Regions from separate parts of the Homo sapiens genome. Here all the other regions are linked to region 2. The links are contacts of gene promoters, found by promoter capture Hi-C in human tissues and cell types (Jung and others, 2019). All regions are on one chromosome and are shown on one strand. The core of a region is centred on a gene start or on the middle of the fragment in contact, and the rest is flanking DNA. Distances in the headings are between cores, read along the strand shown.

Region 1 (5,330 bases), core at 1,801-4,300, 310 kb after region 2:
GGCCGGGTCCAGTGGCTCATGCCTGTAATTCTAACACTTTGGGAGACTGAGGTGGAAGGATTGTTTGAGCCCAGGAGGCAGAGGTTGCAGTGAGCTATGATTATGCCACTGGACTCCATCTTGGGCAACAGGGTGAGACCCTGTCTCAAAGAAAAAAAAAAAATGGTTGGCCTGGGACTACAGGTGTGTACCACCATACCTGGCTAATTTTTAAAAACATTTTTTGTAGAGATGGGGTCTGGCTATGTTACCCGGGCTAGTTTCAAACTCCTGGCCTCAAATGATGCTCCTGCCTCAACCTCCCAAGGTGCTGGGATTAAAGGCATGAGCCATGGTGCCCAGCTTGAATTGACCTATTTTTATTTTTAAAATTTATTCATTTATTTTTTGGGACAGAGTCTTGCCCTGTCTCTCAGGCTGGAGTGCAGTGGTGCTATCTCGGCTCACTGCAACCTCTGCCTCCTGGGTTCAAGCAATTCTCTTGCCTCAGCCTCCCATTTAGCTGGGATTACAGGTACGCACCACCACGTGTGGCTAATTTTTTGTATTTTTAGTAGAGGCGGGGTTTCACCATGTTGCCCAGGCTGATCTTGAACTCCTGAGCTCAGGCAATCCACCCCCTTGGCCTCCCAAAGTGCTAGGATTACAAGCATGAGCCACCGCGCCTGGTCCTATTTTTAAATGACTTCTGGTTTTTGTGTCATTCTTAGGAAGACCTTTTCTCATTCTGAGTCTTAACATTTTCCCATTTTTTTCTTTGCTAATTCTTCCTCCTAGTCATAGGAATTTAGGAATCCGGGTATGGGCCCCCACCGTCCTCTGGGTGGCAGAACTTCCTCTGTGGTCTCCTTCTCTCCCCACATGTCGAAGTTTTCTCTGTTCCCACTTCTCCCCACAGGGTGGTGGTTGGAGCCCCCCAGGAGATAGTGGCTGCCAACCAAAGGGGCAGCCTCTACCAGTGCGACTACAGCACAGGCTCATGCGAGCCCATCCGCCTGCAGGGTGAGTCACTGCCCCGCCGGGCTGGGACTGGGATTCCCCTGTGAACACATAGGGACTTTCCAGGCACTCCTGTGTCCTGGGGATCTGTGGTGGGGACACAGGTGCCTGCCTCCGTACCCTCTCCTCTGCCTGCAGTCTCTACCCTAGACATCCCCAGGCAACCCCTCTGTGTTCCTTTCTTTCCCAAGATTTAGGATCCCCCTTCACCGTCAGACCTCCTTGTCTCCCGCATGGAGGTGACCCCTGCCCAGCTCTTCCACAGCCTTCTCTGTCCCCCCACCAGGGTGACCATGCCCATATCTGTCCCCGCAGTCCCCGTGGAGGCCGTGAACATGTCCCTGGGCCTGTCCCTGGCAGCCACCACCAGCCCCCCTCAGCTGCTGGTGAGTGGGGCTCGATCAGAGGAGCATCCTAATGGGGGTGTTTGGGGGCCCACGCATGGTGGGGCTGGGGGTCTTGTGGAGGGTGGAGGTGCTGGGGTACAAGGACAGGAAGCAGGGGCAGCCCCTTCCACTGGCTCCTGTCCCCTAGGCCTGTGGTCCCACCGTGCACCAGACTTGCAGTGAGAACACGTATGTGAAAGGGCTCTGCTTCCTGTTTGGATCCAACCTACGGCAGCAGCCCCAGAAGTTCCCAGAGGCCCTCCGAGGTGGGTTGCCTTTGGCAGAGGGAACAGATGCGCAGCAAAAGACCAGGGGAGGGGGCAGGACTGAGGTGACGTCTGCTCAAGGTCTGGGCTCTGGGTGCAGAAGAGTGGGGGAACTGGGTCCCATTAGAGTCAGAAGCTAGGGAGGTGCTAGGGTCTTGTACTTTAGGAAAACGCCTTGGCTAGGCACAGTGGCTCATACCTGCAATCCCAAAGCTTTGGGAGCCCAGGAGCTTGAGATCAGCCTGGGCAATGTAGTGAGATCCTGTCTCTAAAAAAAAAAAAAAAAAAAATTAGCTGAGTGTGGTGATGAGCACCTGTAGTCTTAGCTATTTGGAGGCCAAGGTGGGAAGATTGCTTGAGGCCACAAGTTCAAGGCAAGCCTGGGCAACATAGGGAGATCCCCGTCTCTACAAAAAAAAAAAAAAATTAGCCAGGCGTGGTGGCACACACCTGCAGTCCCAGCTACTCAGGAGGATCACTTGAGCCTGGGAAGTTGAAGCTGCAGCAAGTTATGATTGCACCACTGTACTCCAACCTGGGTGACAGAGCAAGACCCTGTCTTTAAAAAATAAGTCCAGGTCACACTGCAGAGGAGGGGATGGTGCAAGGTGTCATTGGCAAGAGGTGGGAATCTTGGGGACCATCCTGGGGGGCGGCCTTCCACACCCCTGTTCCCCAAACCTCTGTTGATTGAGATTCTGAGTGACTGTATGGATTTTTTTTTTTTTTTTTTTTTTTGAGGCAGAGTCTCGCTCTGTCACCCAGGCTGGAGTGCAGTGGCACGATCTTGGCTTACTGCAACCTCTGCCTCCCAGGTTCAAGCGATTCTCCTGCCCCATCTTCCCAAGTAGCTGGGATTACAGGTGCCCGCCACCACACCCGGCTAATTTTTGTATTTTTAGCAGAGACGGGGTTTCACCATGTTGGCCAGGCTGGTCTCGAACTCCTGAGCTCTGGTGATCTGCCCACCTTGGCTTCCCAAAGTGCTGGGAATGAGCCAGGGAATGAGTGGGGGGCATGAGCCACCATGCCTGGCCAGAGTGCGTGGATCTTTCAAGCTGCTTTTTCCCACTGCTTTGTTCGATGGCTATGCCATCTTTTTGCTTGTCTTCATGTTGATTCTGGGACCACAGGCGAATGTTTCTCCCTTGCATTTTTTTTCTTTCTCAAGCCCTGTTCCTCTATATTTCACCCTCCACAGTTAATCCTCCTTCCTCCACAGAGAAAACAAAAGCTTCAGGCATGGACTCCCTCCACTTTCCCCTTCTCTTATTTTATCTTAATAAGCGGTTTTCCAGTCTTCACTGGAATTTGTTGACAAATTCTAAAGGAGCTGTAACACCGCACTTTCTCCTTTTTCTCAAATTTCCATAATGACAGCACTCCTGGCAGTGACTCACTCGTTTTAGAGGAAGACCTGTCTCTCCTCTGTCCCATGACTAAATTCTTCCATATGGGCTTTTGAGAGTCTCTCATGCACCAACTAAGGTGATCACCTATCTTTCTTTTTTCTTTTTTTTTTGGAGACAGGGTCTTGCTCTGTCACCTAAGCTGGAGTGCAGTGGCACAATCTCGGCTCACTGCAGCCTCTGCCTCCTGTGCTCAAGAAATTCTTGTGCCTCCGCCTCCAGAGTAGCTGGGATCACAGGTGCGCATATACTGATTTTTGTATTTTTTGTAGAGATGGGGTTTCACCTTGTTGCCCAGGCTGGTCTCGAATTCCTGGGCTCAAGAGATCTTCCCACCTCAGCCTCCCACAGTGCTGGGATCACAGGTGTGAGCCACTGCGCCTGGCCCAGCATCTCTTGAATCACTTGTTTTCTCTCTAGGACAATTAACTTCCCCCTTCCTCTGGCTGTAAACACTCTTCATTCTATCTGTATCTGAAAAGCAATCAACCACCACAATCGATAGCCATGAAAACAATCTTCTCTCTTCCAGTCTCCTCCTCATCTCCTGCCATCTCTCCTCACCCTCACCACCCAAGCTTCCTGAGTGCATTCTCTTCACCCCCGGCTGGCCTCCAGCTTCCCTCTCCACCTAGGGGCACTGGGTTCTGGGTTCTCTTTTCACCCACGTGTTCTTCTTTCCTGAAATCACCCAGTTCTGTGGCTTCAGCTAACACTTCTACCTCTCCCTCTTTAGACCTCACTCTCAGGGTTCAAGACTACTTCTTTAAAAAAGTTTTCATTTATTAAAAAATATATAATACATACACTTGGTTCAAAATTCGAAAGGGTGCGGTAGCTCACACCTGTAATTCCAGCACTTTGGGAGGTCAAGGCAGGAGGATTGTTTGAGGCCAGGAGTTTGGGACCAGCCTAGACAACATAATGAGACCCCATCTCTACAAAAAATGCAATTAGCCAGGCATGGTGGCGTGTGCCTGTGGTCTTAGCTATTCAGGAGGCCTCCCAAAGTGCTGGGGTTACAGGCATGAGCCACTGTGCCCTGCCAGTCTTTCTAAAATACAAAACAAATCATCTCACTTCCTTTTCTAAGAACCTTCTGTGGCTCCCCATTGCCTACAGATAAAGTCGAGCTCCTTATTGGAGTAGAAAGGCCCTTGCCCGCTGCTCTTTGCTTGATGCCACCGCTGTGTCTCCATCGCCGTCACATACGTTTGTCCCTGTAGTGCTGTTTCCATCAAACGGCATTCCTGGATTCTGCCAGAATCCTTTTGAGGCCCTTGTCCCATATATCAGTAGGAGTCTCAACTGGGACCAAAAGCACATTCCAGTAATGTAACTGCCCAAGGGGTTCACCTTGCTTGCTGCCTAGACAGAGCCGATTCATCAAGACAGCAGAATTGCGATAGAGAAAGAATAATTCACACAGAGCCAGCTATGCAGGGGACCAGAGTTTTATTATCACTCGAATCAGTCTCCTCGAGCATTTGGGGGCAGAGTTTTTGAGGATAACTTGGTAGGTCGCGGGGGAAGCCAGTGAGCTGGGAGTGCTGATTGATCAGGGATGAAATCATCGGGAGTCGGAGCTGTCTTCTTGCGTTCAGTTGGTTCCTGGGTGGGGGCAGCAAGATCGGATGAACCAGTTTATTGATCTGGGCAGTGCCAGCTGATCCATCAAGTGCAAGGTCTGCAAAATATCTCAAGCACTGATTTTAGGAGCAGTTTAGGGAGGGTCAGAATCTTGTAGCCTCCAGCTGCATGACTCCTAAATCATAATTTCTCATCTTGTGGCTAACGTTAGTCCTACAAAGGCAATCTAGTCCCCAGGTAAGAAGGAGGTCTGCTTTGGGAAAGGGCTGTTACGATCTTTGTTTAAACTATAAACTATAAACTATAAACTAAGTGTCTCCCAAAGTTAGCTCAGCCTACACCCAGGAATGAACACGGACAGCTTGGAGGTTAGAAGCAAGATGGAATCAGTTAAGTTAGATCTCTTTCACTGTCTCAGTCATAATTTTGCAAAGGCGGTTTCAGTAAGATTTATTTACAAAGAGGGGGGTTTATTTATAAAGGGAGTAATTATAAAGCTGTGACAGGCCTAAGGGAGCCATCAGGGACTTTCCAAGCCCTGGGCAAGCAGGTCTGTTGCCACCCCTGGGTTTATGGGTTGAGGAGAGGGAGAGCTCACCAGGGTCTGGAGAGAGTCATGTGGAGCTGGCTTCCTTCTGAGGAACAGTTGGTCTTTTGTGAAGGACATAGCTGTCCCCAAA
Region 2 (4,902 bases), core at 194-2,693:
TGAGAAAAGGAACCAGTGCCTTTCAACTGGAACAGAAAGGAATCTGATCTCAACACCTATGCCTCCACGTAAATTATTTTTTTCAGCCTTATTTCCCTCAAAATTGTAGAGTCCTAATCTTCTTCTATCTTGTGGTGTGAGACCTTGGATAAGTCTCCCTTCCACCTTTTCCTATTACTTAAAATGGTGAATTTGCATAAACCAGGCTCTAAGGGTCTTTTCTGCACTGTTCGGATGTGTACAAATTGACATCCAAGTTTAAAGGAAGACTCTGAAACTTAGGTCAATGACTTGCCCAAGGCCATATAGCGAGGGCCTGATGTACACATATCAGGAGCTTGGGGCATCCTCAGCTCAGGAAAAGGGACCTCCTGGGAGTGCCTGCGCCCACACGGGATCAAAACGGTGCCCAGCCTTCAGAAACCTCAGCCCGAGTTCCAGGGGTAGGCCTGGGCCGCTGCTGCCCTTGTGCGGAGGCATCCCGTGAGCATAGGGCGCCATAGCCAAAGAAGCGGGCAGTGGGACCATGACGCCAGGAGGACACACCAGTCCAGTCCCGTTCCTGTAGGACCTCGTTTATTATTACAAGGCCCATTTAAGGGCACTTAGGCCCCACTAGGCTCATCAGAAAACCTTGAGGCGGTCCCTGGATTTAACCACTAATGGTGGGTTTGAGTACGGCAAAGTAGGGCACCTTCTACAGGCCTCACTCTCCCCATCTGGCAAATGGGCATCCTAAGCAGCCAGACACCCAAGGGCAATAACGGGAAGGAAAGGTACCCTGCATTTATGTGCGAGGCGGGGCAAACCGCCTGAGTCACCGCTCACGGTTGTGTTTTTCCACCTCCCGGCCGTCCCTCCCATCCGGGTGAGTCCTCGTGGGTCCTCCCGGAGGCGCCCCCTAGTCCCAGGCTCTGCACGCCCTGGCCCCGCCCCTTGACTCGGCCCCGCCCACAGCGGAATCCGCAGATTCGCCAGGTCGGATCCTCAGAATTCCTCGGGTCCCTCGATACTCGGCTGAAAATTCTCATCGGACTCTGAGAGGAGCGCTGGGCTGGAGGCATTTTCCCCAGGGACAGAAGCGGGCTATTCTCTCACTTGGGCCAGTAAGAAAAATCCAAAAAAAGTTGTCGACTCTGCCAGCAGGGATTGGCTAACGGGCCGTTATTTTCTTGACTCCACCAAGGCGGATGAAGGGGAGGCTACGGCTGAGGCCGGGAACAGTGGCGAATCTGCAGCCTCTCAGAATTTGGCAGTGCAAGGAAGGGACGGGGAAGAGAAGCAAAGCGGCGCGCATCCTGTCCAGCGATTCGCCCCGCCCGCCCGGTGAATCTGCGTCTGCAGAACGCGCCACTGAAGGTTCCCCAGCGCTGGCTGGCCTCCTCCCCTCCGCCCCGCCCCTTTTCCTCAGGGACTAGTCGCAGCTTTCGTCGCCGCCGATTCGTCAAGGTCCCGGGCCGCAGCATCTAGATCGTCGTGGCGAAGCCGACTCTCCGGGGGATGCGGCCAATCTCCAAGCTCCCTGGGCCGCAACTTCCGAGCCTCCCAGGGCGCCGGCCGAGGCGAAGCCGCTACCCTCGGCCCCGTGGGTCCCCCGGCAGCGCCTGTGGCGAAAGTGCGAATGCAGACCCTGTGCCCGCTGGGCCTCGCGCAGGTGGCAGTGGTGTTTGGTGCGCGCGCCGGGGAGGTGGTGGTGGGGGGGCGCCGCCGCCGCCACCGCTGCGGGGCCGGGTCTCGCGCTGCCGCTGCCGCCGCCTCGCGCCGCTGAGGTGCCGCGCGAGGTGGGGGGAGGGGGAGCCGCTCGCCGGGAGCGGGTGAGTGGGGCCGCGCGGCGCGCGTGCGCGGAGACCTGCTGGGGGGGGTGCAGAACGCGCCGGGGCGGGAGGAGAGGGCAGCGGTGCACGTTCCCCCCACCCCCCCGCCCGGATTCGGGGTCGAAGCCGGGTCTCGGGCTCGGTCTCGCGGTGTTTCCAACGCCCCGAAGAGGTGCCACCTTTCGGCCGGAGGATCGGGGCGCGGGGAGGAGAGCGGGTGTGTGGGAGCCGTGGCCGGGCTCGGCCCGGGCCGCTGGCCGGTGAGGAGGCGGGAGGGGGCGGGGCCTGCAGGGGGCGGGGGAGGGGTCTTGCTCCGAGGCCAAGTGGGGCGCGCGCTAGGGAGAGCGGGAAGGTAAGGGGGCTCGAGACGGGCCTGGGGGCCTGACAGTAGAGTTGGGAGGTGGAAAGAGGCTGGGTTGTTGTGGCGAAACAGAGGGTACTTGGGGGAGAATCCGGGGGAGCCCCGGGTCAGGGTGAGGGTTGGAAACTGGAGTGATGGGAGAACCTGGAATCGGGGCTAGCCAATGAGGAAAGGCAGGGGAGTCAGGCCCCAAGTCCTGATCCTTCTTGCGTGTCCCTCTTCCCCTAACAGTGTAAATGAGCAAAGATGGATCAGGAAGGTGGGGGAGATGGGCAGAAGGCCCCGAGCTTCCAGTGGCGGAACTACAAGCTCATCGTGGATCCTGCCTTGGACCCTGCCCTGCGCAGGCCTTCTCAGAAGGTGTACCGCTATGATGGAGTCCACTTCAGTGTCAACGTGAGTGCCCGGGTCTTTGGTTGCCATCCGGGGAGCTCCAGGCGCCCGTCCTCTGTGATTCTGTTCAGCACCTAGAACGGTAGCCTGCCTTCTTGAAAGTGGGCAGTTGGACCCAGCTCTTCTGCATGTGTGTGTCCAGATGGGCTGCTTGGAGCTCCCTAGCCTGGATTCACCCTGAGCTCTCTTTCTGCTGCTGCTTTCCTTCCTAGGACTCAAAGTATATACCAGTCGAAGACCTCCAAGACCCCCGTTGCCATGTCAGGTCCAAAAACAGAGACTTTTCCCTCCCAGTCCCTAAGTTTAAGGTAAGTGTCTGCTGGGCTCCTGGTGTGGTAGTCCTAAGAGGGTGTGGAGGATGCGTCTTGGCACTATAGCTGAATAAAAGGGTTTCCAATGAAAGGATCTCAGCCAGATCTAGCAACCTCTGAGGCTGTGAGACTCAGTTGTTTTGGATAGGAGGTACACTTAATCTTCCAGAAAGGTGCAGGTCAGGTGTCCTAAGTGTATCCCTGGTGGCTGGGGTGTCGACTTCTTGAAGGGTGAGGTAAAGACTCTTTAGCTGCTATACCTATCACTGTATATTCGTAGACAGTGCATCATAGCACACAAGAGTGGGATCTCCCAGTTCCTTGACAGTCAAGGGGAGTGACAAGGCCACTGCCTACCTGGGTAGCACTATTCCCCGCCTCTCATTTGGCGATGTCATTTCCCTCTTGTTTCCTTCGAGGACTCCTATTCTCCACCCTAGACAAGATATTCTTCAGGCCTTGAACTGGGCCTGGAACACTGGTGGTTCTTCATTTCCTTCTCTGATTCTTTATTCTTCCTTTCTAAATAAATTGTTTGTGGGGTCCCTTCATTCTTCTTCTTCTTTTTTTTTTTTTTACTTTGTACACTTCACTTGGACAATCTCTTTCACACCCACAGCTTCAACTATTACCTAAATGTTGATGACTTCCAAGTATCTGTTTCCAGCCAACATCTCTAGGCTTGTATGCCTGGTAGGGGGACAGTTTCATTTGGAGGCCACACATGTTTCAGATTTAAGGGATTTAAAACAAATTATCTACCTCCTTAACCTACCTTTTTCATTTTCCCTCTACTCATATGTGGCAGTACCATCGACTCAGCTGTACAGCCTGGCAGCCTGTGATTCTCTCCTTTTCTCTCTCAGTTGGTCACCGAATCCTCCTGGCTCTTTTCTTTTTTATTCTTCATCTTTCTATTCTCATTGCCACTTAATGTAGACCTTGGTATTCATTTCACCTGGTCTCCTTGCCTTCGTTCTTGCCTCAGTTTCTCCTCTGCCTTGCTGTCATTTGTCTCTTTGGCTTCACTACGCTGCTGTTTTCCTTTTGTTGCCAAGTCCATGTTTTGGGACACTGACATGTATGGTTATTGACCTGGCCAAGCCTTATCCTCCGCCTTGACACCACACCCCTGTGTTACATCCACACCATAACGCTTTGCGGTTTTTCAAAAACACCAAGTTGTTTTATATTTCCATGTTCCAGGGGTCCTTGTCATTTGATGAATTGTTAATCCCCAAATCTCAGTAAGAATGACACCATCTTTATGAATTCTTCCCTGATCATACTCTGTACAAAAGTTTCCTTCCCTGGGCTCCAGAACACCATGTATGCGTCAGCTGCCACTGGGTCGTGTTGTGTTTGTATGTGCATGTCATGCTGCTTTTCTGTATGGGAATCTCTTCCTTTCTATCTCTGTATTTCCAGTGCCTCGTTCATGGTAGTTACCTAGTAAAGGCTGAGCTAGGAAATCATCGCCCTGTAGCTCGTTCTCTCCACGTATATTTATTCCTCAGTGTGTACATTTCTTTCTTTCTTTCTTTTTTTTTTTTTTTTTTTTTTTGAGACGGAGTCTCGCTGTGTTGCCCAGGCTGGAGTGCAGTGGTGTGATCTCGGCTTAGTGCAACCTCTGCCTGCCAGGTTCAAGTGATTCTCCTGCCTCACCCTCCTGAGTAGCTGGGATTACAGGTGCCCACCATCACATCCAGCTAAATTTTTTTTTTTGTATTTTTAGTAGAGACAGGGTTTTATCATGTTGGACAGGCTGGTCTTGAACTCCTGACTTCTGGTGATCCGTCCACCTCATCCTCCCAAAGTGTTGGGATTATAAGTGTGAGCTGCCACACCCGGCCTAGTTTGCACATTTCTGTTCTTAATTCTTGCTGTTATTCTGTGGTGAGAAGAATTCAGGGAAAAGGGGTCAGGTCTGATGGATCCCTTATTTTGGGCCCCTTCCCTTGCCCCTCACTTTCCCGGATCTCTCTCTTGACTTCATGGAGCTTGCTAAAGTTTCCCGAAGGAC
Region 3 (4,893 bases), core at 787-3,286, 290 kb after region 2:
AGGGATGGCAGGGGTTCCACATGACTGGTACCCATATGTGGTTGGAAATGCCCTGACTCTCTCTAGACTCCAAGCTGGGTCCATCTCTTGCTTGTGGTCCCCAGTAGCTGAAGTACAGCTGAGGTGTTCCTGGGGTTGCTATTTAGCTTAACCATGGCTCTCTCCTCTGCTGAGGAGCCCCTTGGAGTGAGAGATGCCTGCCTCCCCTCAGGGCTTTGCCTCCACCCTTTCTCCAACCTCTGTATTCCTTCATGTGGAACCAGGAAGCCCCCCTCTCCCTCAATTTCCCACTTTATTTAAGGCACATAAAACTTTTCTGGAGGAAAGCTCTTGTTGAATCTGCAGCCTCTCCCCAAACCCCAAGGCCTGTAAAGCTCTGAATAGAGAGGCCCTGAGCTGAATGTGACAGTAATGATACTTATATCAGGTCAAGGATGCCTAAGGACCATAGTTACTTTGTCAAATTGTACAAGATGTTTCATCCAGAGCGTGCTTAGAGTAATGATAATGATATGTGGCAGAGAGAGCTAGTTGCCCCCATGTGCTTTCCTCTTCTTCCTTTAGTAATGCAACCCCATTAATTAGCACACAGATACTTAGGATAACATCACATTTTCCAGTCACCACTGCAGTTGTGTGTGGCCATGTGACTAAGTCCTGGCCAATGAGATGTGAAGGAAATGATGTGTGCAACATTTGGTCTCACCTTTAAAGGAAAGGGGCCTTCCCACCATTTTTTTTCTTTGTTATGAGACAGAGTCTCACTCTGTCACCCAGGCTGGAGTGCAGTGGCATGCTCTTGGCTCACTGCAACCTCCACCTTCCAGGTTCAAGCGATTCTCCTGCCTCAGCCTCCCAAGGAGCTGGGACTATAAGCGCCCGCCACAATGGCTGGCTAATTTTTGTATTTTTAGTAAAGGCGGGGTTTCACCATGTTTGCCAGGCTGGTCTCGAACTCCTGACCTCATGTGAACCCACTTCGGCCTCCCAAAATGCTGGGATTACAGGTGTGAGCCACTGTGCCTGGCTTTTTTTTTTTTTGATACAGATTCTTGCTCTGTTACCCAGGCTGGAGTAAAGTGGTGCAATCTTGACTCACTGCAGCCTTGACCTCCCAGGCTCAGGTGATCCTCCCACCTAAGCCTCCCAAGTAGCAGGGACCACAGGCACATGCTACCATGCCCAGCTAATTTTTTTTTGTAATTTTTATAGAGACAAGGTTGTGTCATGTTGCTGCGCTGGTCTTGAACTCGTGGGCTCAAGTGATCTGCCTGCCTCGGCCTTCTAAAGTGCTGGGATTACAGACATAAGCCAACGTGCCTGGCCTCAATTTTTTTTTTTTTTTTTTTGAGACAAAGTCTCACTCTATTGCCCAGGATGGAGTACAGTGGCTTGAGCTCGGCTCACTGCAACCTCTGCCTCCTGAGTTCAAGCGATTCTCCTGCCTCAGTCTCCCAAGTTGCTGGGATTGCAGGCATGTGCCACCACACCCAGCTAATTTTTGTATTTTTAGTAGAGATGGGGTTTCACCATGTTGGTTAGGCTGGTCTTGAACTCCTGACCTCAGGTGATCCGCCTGCCTCGGCCTCCCAAAGTGCTGGGATTACAGGCGTGAGCCACCACTCCCTGCCAGGCACCACTTCTTTTTATCCTTCCTGTCAGCCCGAGGGTGGACTTGGCGCTGGGCCGTCTTTGACCAGGCGGATGAAGACAAAACCCTCAGGATGGCAGAGCAACCTGCTGGAGGGAGCCTGGATCTCCAACACCATGGAGCCTCCGTAACCCCCAAATGCTGATGCTGGGGCCATCACAGGACTGTCTGGGCTAAGCCTCTGTGATTTTGGGTCTTATTACAACAGTTGAACCTTAGTCTCCACCAATACAAATAATCATCTTTGCCGGTGGGGGCGCATCTTACATGCCAGGCACTGTGCTAAGCTTTTCACATGCATTATTTAATTTAACCCTTACAAAAACTCTGTTAAGTCACACATCAGTTAGGGCCTTTTGGGGAAAAACAACAGAACAAGTAGAACATGAGATTTACTGAGTACCAAGTAGCCTATTCCAGGAATTAGTAGTTTTGTTTCCTGCCCTGCTCAGGTTAGGCCCTGAGCAACTCCTCCTTTCAAGGTTGGGAGGCAAGAACTTAGAGATGGTGAAATGGCTGTCGCTGCCCTGCAAGTCACCTGTGGCCAACCATGCTCTTTGTGTGACCTTGGTCGAAACACCTGGGACTCACAAAGCCTGTGGTAGAACAATTTCCTTGGCCTGCCAGACATTTGGCCTGCTGCATGGACAACTGAGGTGGCAAGGGAAGCATCCAGAATGCTTCCCACTGAGCGACAGGCAGCTTTCAGCCACCTACCTCTGTGTGTCATCGAGGGTGCGCTGGCCAGGTCATCCATCAACCCAACACAGTTGGTAGAATGATTACAGCGAATGTTGACTACATGCACTTTGACATCTATTATTATCTCATTTAACTATCACAATCACCCCAAGATGTTAGTACAATTATTGCCCCCATTTTCCAGATGAGGACAGTGAGGTCCAGAGAGTAAGTTGTTCAAGGGCATACTTATAGACCTAGGATATTTTTATTCTTTTTTTTTTTTTTTCTGAGATGAGATCTTGCTCTGTTGCCCAGGCTGGAGGGCAGTGGTGTGATCTTGGCTCATTGCAATCTCCGCCTCCTGGGTTCAAGTGATTTTCTTGCCTCAGCCTCCTGAGTAGCTGGGATTACAGGCATGTGCCACCATTCCCGGCTAATTTTTGTATTTTTGGTAGAGACAGGGTTTCGCTATATTGTCCAGGCTGGTTTCAAACTTCTGACTTCAGGTGATCCACCTGCCTCAGCCTCCCAAAGTGCTGGGATTACAGGTGTGAGCCACCACACCCGGCGTAGACCTAGGATTTTAGTGCCCTTAGTCTGATTCCAGACCCAAAGGCTTAACCAGATGGCTGAGGATGACACTCAGGTGGAACTTTTTTTTCTTACTTTTTTTTTTTTTTAAGACAGGGTCTCGCTGTGTTGCCCAAGCTGGAGTGCGGTGGTGCAATCAGCTCACTGCAGCCTCAATCTCCTGGGCTCAAGTGATTCTCCCACCTCAGCCTCCTGGGTAGCTGGGGTTGTCTCACGTGTCCATGTGAAGAGACCACCAAACGGGCTTCGTGTGAGCAACAAGGCTGTTTATTTCACCTGGGTGCAGGCGGGCTGAGTCCGAAAAGAGAGTCAGCAAAGGGTGGTGGATTATCATTAGTTCCTACAGGTTTTGGGATAGGGGGTGAAAAGCCATGTTTTGCGGGCAGGGGTGGATCTCACAAAGTACATTCTCAAGGGTGGGGAGAATTACAAAGAACCTTCTTAAGGGTCGGGGAGATTACAAAGTACCTTCTTAAGGGTGGGGGAGATTACAAAGTACATTGATCAGTTAGGGTGGGACAGAAACAAATCACAATGGTGGAATGTCATCAGTTAAGGCTATTTTCACTTCTTTTGTGGATCTTCAGTTGCTTCAAGCCATCTGGATGTATACATGCAGGTCACAGGGGATATGATGGCTTAGCTTGGGCTCAGAGGCCTGACAGGATCACAGGAACTTTTCTTGACAATCCAGTGCAATGGAAAAACAGTATTTTATTCTTGTTCTTCCCACAACTTTCTCAGGAGGGCGGATCCTGTAGCAAGTTTCTTCGAGTGTGGTGAGCGAAGCAAATTGGAGGAGCTCAGACGGAGATAATTTGTCTGTGTAGACAAGGAAGGAAATTTGGAGAGGTGGGACTGGGAGATTTTGTTGGGAAGAGAGAAGCCGTGACCCTGGGTGCTGTGCAGGAAAAGGGACGATGAAGACCTGATACCTTCATTCCCCTGAGAGCAAAACTGGAAAATGTTGAGGAATGTGGCAAAGAAGGTTTGCGAAGTTGAGTATAGAGAGTCATGTGATGCAAAACCCACTTGTTTGAAGGAGGTGGGCCAGTGAGCCTGCCGATCCCTGGGGGAAGATTGGTTCCATCAGAGGGAACAGCCAGTGCCATGGCCTTCAGGTGGTGGTGTGCCTGGCAGGTTTGAGGAATGGCAAGGAGGCCAGGGTGGCTGCTGTCCCAGAAAATGAGGTAAGCTCAGAGAGGTAAGGGCTGGGGTTGGGATGACAGGTCATGCAGGTCCTTGTAGGTTGTAGAAAGGACTGGCTTTTACTATCAGTAACGTGGGAGCCTTTGCAAGGTTTTGAGCAGAGGAGTGGCATGATATGTCTTGTGTTTTGAAACAATCCCTCTGACTGCTGTACTGAAAATTGACTTCGGCTGGGCACGGTGGCTCACGCATGTAATGCCAGCACTTTGGGAGGCTGAGGTGGGAGGATGGCTTGAGGCTAGGAGTTTGAGACCAGCCTAGGCAACTTAGTGAGACCCCGTCTCTACAAAAAGATTGAAAAATTACCTGGACATGGGGGCGCATGCCTGTAGTACCAGCTATTTAGGAGGCTGAGGTGGGAGGATCATTTGAACCCAGGAGTTGGAAAAAAGAAAAAAGGCAGTCAAAGGACTGAGCTCTGAGATCCTTCTGAAGAGGTTGGGAGAAGAGGAGAATCAGCAAGAGAAACTGAGAAGGAGGGTCATGGGCGGTAGGCGGGAAGCAGGAGAGTGTGGGGTCAGAGGACAGATGTAGAAATCAGTTCCAGGAAGCGAGGGCCGAGTGTCAGAAGCTGCTGCTGAGTCACTCAAGATGAAGACAGAACTCATCACTGGAGTCACTCAGGCAGCCTTGGTGACCTTGATAAAAATAGTTTAGGTGGAGTAGGTGCCGGGTTGGAGCACAGGCTTGGTTGGAATGGGGTTAAGGGAGGATGTGAGCAGTAGAACAGGGTGCAGCCAACACAGACAACTACTTTG
Region 4 (4,981 bases), core at 184-2,683, 270 kb before region 2:
TGTAATCCCAGCTACTCAGGAGGCTGAGGCAGGAGAATCGCTTGAACCCAGGAGACAGAGGTTGCAGTGAGCTGAGATCGCGCCACTACACTCCAGCCTGGCAACGAGTAACACTCTGTCTCAAACAACAACAACAAAAACACACCAAAAAAACACCTGTGTACCACTCTCCAGGAATTAACAAACACATTCTGCTATTTTTTTGTTTTGTTTCCTTTTTTTTTTCTAACAAGACCACAAAACAGAAGGTACTTATTCTACACACCTTTTTTTTTTTTTTTTTTTTTTAGAATGCAGTACTTAATGGTCACTCTTTTGTGAGTCACTTAATGGATCAAGGCTTTTCTTATTTATTGTATGTCATGTGACCTCAGCCAATATTCTCCTTTTGTTGTTGTTGTTTTGTGTTTGTTTGTTTTGAGGTGGAGTCTCACTGTTGCCCAAGGATGGAGTGTAGTGGCGTAATCTCGGCTCACTGAAAACTCAGCTTCCTGGGTTCAAGAATTTTTTTTAATTTTTTTTGAGATGGACTCTCGCTCTGTTGCCCAGACTGGAGTGCAGTGACGTGATCTCGGCTCACTGCAACCTCTGCCTCCCGGGTTCAAGCAATTCTCTGCCTCAGCCTCCCAAGTACCTGGGATTACAGGCGCCTGCCAAGATTACCCACTAATTTTTTTGTGTTTTTAATAGAGACGGGGTTTCGCTATCTTGGCCAGGCTGGTCTTGAACTCCTGACCTCATGATCCACCCGCCTCGGCCTCCCAAAGTGCTGGGATTAGGCATGAGCCACCGTGCCCGGCCGAATAATTTTTTAATTCAAATAAAAAAGTTTGGGCATGCTTACAGTCCCTCCGACAGCAGTGTGTGCACCTAGCTGCCCATACCCTTCCTAGAACTGGGTGTCATAATTACAGTTTCCTTCTCATAAGGTTGGGATGTTTTGGATTCGTGTGTTTGCTTAAGATGTGCTGGGTTCAACCCACGAAGGCTCTGTGCTTGGCTGTGTTCTGAGAAGTTTTCAGTCCTTGTGGAGAGGAGAGGTATTCTAGCACCCTCTCCTAGCCTCCTGGGACCTCAGCCACCCACAACTGCCTTCCAGAGTTTCCTCGCAGAGGTTCCCCAGAAGAGTTATTTGCTAAATCTGTCAACCTTACCACCACATTCCCTTTCTGCTTAAAGATTTCAATCTCCATCACCTTTTACCTAGACTACAGCAGTCACTTAGACTCTTATCCCAACAGTCCGTTGTCAGCACGTTGTATCTGGCCTCTGCTCAAAGCCCTCCTGCTACACTTCACATTCCATCTAAGCTCCTTAGCTTGGTCTTCAAAGCCCTGCCAGATGCAGGCCTGATCCTCTTCTAAGACCGCATCTCCCACTGTTCCCCTTCCCCTGCAGTCTCCTGGTGGGTTCCTGGCAGGATAAGCTGGGTCTAGCCTCAGGGACTTTGTACTTATTATTATTATTATTTTATGAGACAGAGTTTTGCTCTTGTCACCCAGGCTGGAGTACAATGGAATGATCTTGGCTCACTGCAACCTCCACTTCCTGGGTTCAAGCGATTCTCCTACCTCAGCCTCCCAAGTAGCTGGGAGTACAGGTGCTCGCCACCAGGCCCAGCAAATTTTTGTAGTAGAGATGGGTTTTCACCATGTTGGCCAGGCTGGTCTCGAACTCCTGATCTCAGGTGATACACCTGCTTCAGCCTTCCAAAGTGCTGAGATTATAGGCGTGAGCCACCGCGCCCGGCCCCTTTGTACTTATTTACCTCTGCTTAGGATGCTCTTCCCCCAGAGCGTCTCTGTTCAAATGTCACCACACTAGAGAGGCCCTCCCAGACAATCTTGTCTAAAATAATGCCTCTTCTGCCCCTCACCCGAGCTCATCCACCCCACTTCATTTTTTCATAACACGTATCAGCCATTATTATATTTTATTTTATTCATTTATTGAGATAGAGTCTCGCTGTGTCGCCCAGGCTGGAGTGCAGTGGCACAGTCTGGGCTCACTGCAACCTCTACCCCCCAGGTTCAAGTAATTCTCCTGCCTCAGCCTCCCCAGTAGCTGGGACTACAGGCAGGGGCCACCACGCCTGGCTAATTTTTTTTTTTTTTTTTTTTTGAGACAGAGTCTCGCTCTGTCGCCCAGGCTATAGTGCAGTGACGGTGGCACGATCTTGGCTCACTGCAACCTCCGCCTCCCGGGTTCAAGTGATTCTTCTGCCTCAGCCTCCCGAGTAGCTGGGAGTACAAGTGCCTGCCACCACGCCTGGCTAATTTTTGTATTTTTAGTAGAGACGGGATTTCATCATATTGGCCAGGCTGATCTCGAACTCCTGACCTTGTGATCTGCCTGCCTCAGCCTCCCCAAGTACTGGGATTACAGGCGTAAGCCACCATGCCCAGCCAACCATCATTATTTTATATTCACACTTATTTATATGTTTGTTATTTGTCTTCTCCCACCAGGAATGTAAGCTTGATAAAAACTGAAACCTTGAGTGTTTTACTTGTTTGTGTTTCCAACATTATCTCCCCAGTGCCTAGAATAATGCCTGGCACATGGTAGATGGACTCAGATGCTAGACCTGGATTTGACAAGGTGTACTGCACAGCAGTTAAGAGCACAAATGTAGCTGGGCACAGTGGCTCATGCCTGTAATCCCTGCACTTCGAGAGGCTGAGGCAGGAGGATTGCTTGAAACCAGGAGTTGAAGGCCAGCCTGGGCAACAAAGCAGGACCTCATCTCTCTCTTTTTTTTATTTTTATTTATTTATTTTTTTTGAGATGGAGTTTTGCTTGTCACCCAGGCTGGAGTGCAATGGCGCAATCTTGGCTCACTGCAACCTCTGCCTCCTGGGTTCAAGTGATTCTCCTGCCTCAGACTCCCAAGAAGCTGGGATTACAGGCACGAACCACCAAGTCGGCCATTTTTTTGTATTTTTAGTAGAGGCGGGGTTTCACCTTGTTGGCCAGGCTGGTCTCCAACTCCTGACCTCAGGTGATTCCATCTGCCTCCGTCTCCCAAAGTGCTGGGATTATAGGCATGAGCCACTGCGCATGGCAAGACCTCATCTCTTAAGAAAAGTCAGCCAGCCATGGTGGCTGGCACCTATGGTCTTAGCTACTCAGGAGGCTGAGGCAGGAGGATCACTTGAGCCCATGAATTTGAAGCTAAAGTGAGCTATGATGCCCACCACTGCCCTCCAGCTCCAGTCTCGGCAAAGAGTGAGACCATCTCTTGGGGAAAAAAAAAAAAAGCACAAAAATGAGTCAAGTCCCTCTGGGTTGACAGCAGTCCCTGTGTTGTTCTTTTTCAGCTCCGTAACTTGCGACGTTACTTAACCATCCTTTTCACCATCTATAAAAGAAGGATGGTAATCTATTTTTTTTTTTTTTGAAGCAGAGTTTCACTCTCGTTGCCCAGGCTGGAGTGCAATGGTGCGATGTCGGCTCACCACAACATCTGCCTCCCAGGTTCAAGCAATTCTCTTGCCTCAGCCTCCTGAGTAGCTGGGATTACAGGCATGTGCCACAACGCCCAGCTAATTTTGTATTATCAATAGAGACGGGGTTTCTCCATGTTGGTCAGGCTGGTCTCGACCTCCCGACCTCAGGTGATCCACCCATCTCGGCCTCCCAAAGTGCTGGAATTACAGGCGTGAGCCACCACGCCTGGCCGACAATCTATGTAACATAATTGTGAGAATTAAGTGAGTTAATTCATGTAAATACACAGGTTGGTGCTTAGTGCTTGTCATTATTATACTTCTTGAGTGAATTTAACACATAGTATCCAGGTGCAGTGGCTCACGCCTGTAATACCAGCACTTTGGGAGGCCGAGGCGGGTGGATCACCTGAGCGGGAGTTTGAGACCAGCCTGACTAAGATGGCGAAACCCTGTGTCTACTAAAAATACAAACAAACAAACAAACAAAAATATTGGCCGGACATGGTGGTGTGTGCCTGTAATCCCAGCTACCCTGGAGGCTGAGGCAGGGGAATTGCTTAAACCTGGGAGGTGGAGGTTGTAGTGAGCCGAGATTGCACCACTGCACTCCAGCCTGGGCAAGGGAGCGAGACTCCGCCTTAAAAAAAAAAAATTAGCACATATGAGCTATTGCCGTCATGCAACAAGCAGGCATCAACCAAGCCCAAGGTGTGGATATTTATGATGTGCGTGGCACTCCCCCAGACAGTGGACATAGATGGGCATGCATTAAAGTGAACGAGACAGAGGTAAACCCAAGGAATTATTCGTAGAGTGCAGATAAGCAAAAAAAGCAGACTGTTACAGGAGATATAGCGTAGTCTGAGGGCAGGAAAGGCTTCTGGAAGCAGTGACTTTGTCCTAGGACTAAGGATGTGTAGGTTGTAACTGCATGGAAGGAAAGAGAGAAGCAAGTGTGAGAAAGCTCAGAACAGAGAAAAGAACCTGCAGAGAGACAGCAGTGGCTGGAGTGCAGGGCACTGGGAGAGATGAGGCTAGATAATCTGCCAAGGGCTTATCACGCAGGGCCCAGGGGCCTCGGAAAGGGTTTTCACAGGAGCCATGAAAGGACCTGAAGGAGAGTGACTCTGTCCGATCTGCAGTGAGACAAGTTTCCCCTGGCTGCTGTGTGGAGACATCTTCTTCAGGTCTCCATCCAACTTTCACTTCACCAGAGTCCCCCTGGTTTAAAAGGGCCCCTCCCCTGCCCCTCTCTACCTGCTTTATAATGTAATTGCCCTCGCCATTCCCTAACATTATGTCACGCTCTCAATTGCTGGTTCCGATTCCCCCACTGCAATGGATACCACACGGGAACTGGGTTTTGGTGGGGCAGGAGAGACTGGCCACACAAAGATCAATTAGGAGGGTGGTACAGCCTGCTTCGGATCCAGATTTTTGACTTGCCAGGGGGGTTAGGAGCAGCTGTTGGGATGGAAGAGAGCAGGAGGCAGGACTCAGTTCACCTGGAAACTTCATTTGCATAGCAC

What was found. The method cuts DNA at HindIII sites, captures the fragments that hold promoters and counts their contacts. A contact is called where the count stands out against the background at its distance.
Region 1: a contact is called between a fragment that was not itself captured here and the fragment with the promoter of SETD1A in region 2, in 1 of the 25 tissues and cell types used here (spleen).
Region 3: a contact is called between a fragment that was not itself captured here and the fragment with the promoter of SETD1A in region 2, in 1 of the 25 tissues and cell types used here (lymphoblastoid cells).
Region 4: a contact is called between a fragment that was not itself captured here and the fragment with the promoter of SETD1A in region 2, in 1 of the 25 tissues and cell types used here (dorsolateral prefrontal cortex).

The regions. Positions count from the first base shown.
Region 1 is chr16:31,264,497-31,269,826 of GRCh38, forward strand. ITGAM (integrin subunit alpha M) reads left to right here. Exons shown (of 30, transcript NM_000632.4): 3 at 899-1,002; 4 at 1,315-1,385; 5 at 1,534-1,651. Among named protein-coding and RNA genes, the nearest start is that of ITGAM, 7.2 kb to the left of the region's middle. RefSeq lists enhancers at 558-1,757, 872-1,351. The HindIII fragment of the contact is 5,038 bases long and covers 532-5,330 here.
Region 2 is chr16:30,956,311-30,961,212 of GRCh38, forward strand. SETD1A (SET domain containing 1A, histone lysine methyltransferase) reads left to right here and starts at 1,444. Exons shown (of 19, transcript NM_014712.3): 1 at 1,444-1,654; 2 at 2,407-2,571; 3 at 2,781-2,876. The coding sequence starts at 2,422. RefSeq lists enhancers at 752-1,515, 973-1,102 and silencers at 1,703-1,922, 2,063-2,152. The HindIII fragment of the contact is 8,587 bases long and covers 527-4,902 here.
Region 3 is chr16:31,249,102-31,253,994 of GRCh38, forward strand. No RefSeq gene overlaps it. Among named protein-coding and RNA genes, the nearest start is that of ITGAM, 8.4 kb to the right of the region's middle. The HindIII fragment of the contact is 7,042 bases long and covers 1-4,893 here.
Region 4 is chr16:30,687,603-30,692,583 of GRCh38, forward strand. No RefSeq gene overlaps it. Among named protein-coding and RNA genes, the nearest start is that of SRCAP, 9.1 kb to the right of the region's middle. The HindIII fragment of the contact is 5,824 bases long and covers 1-4,345 here.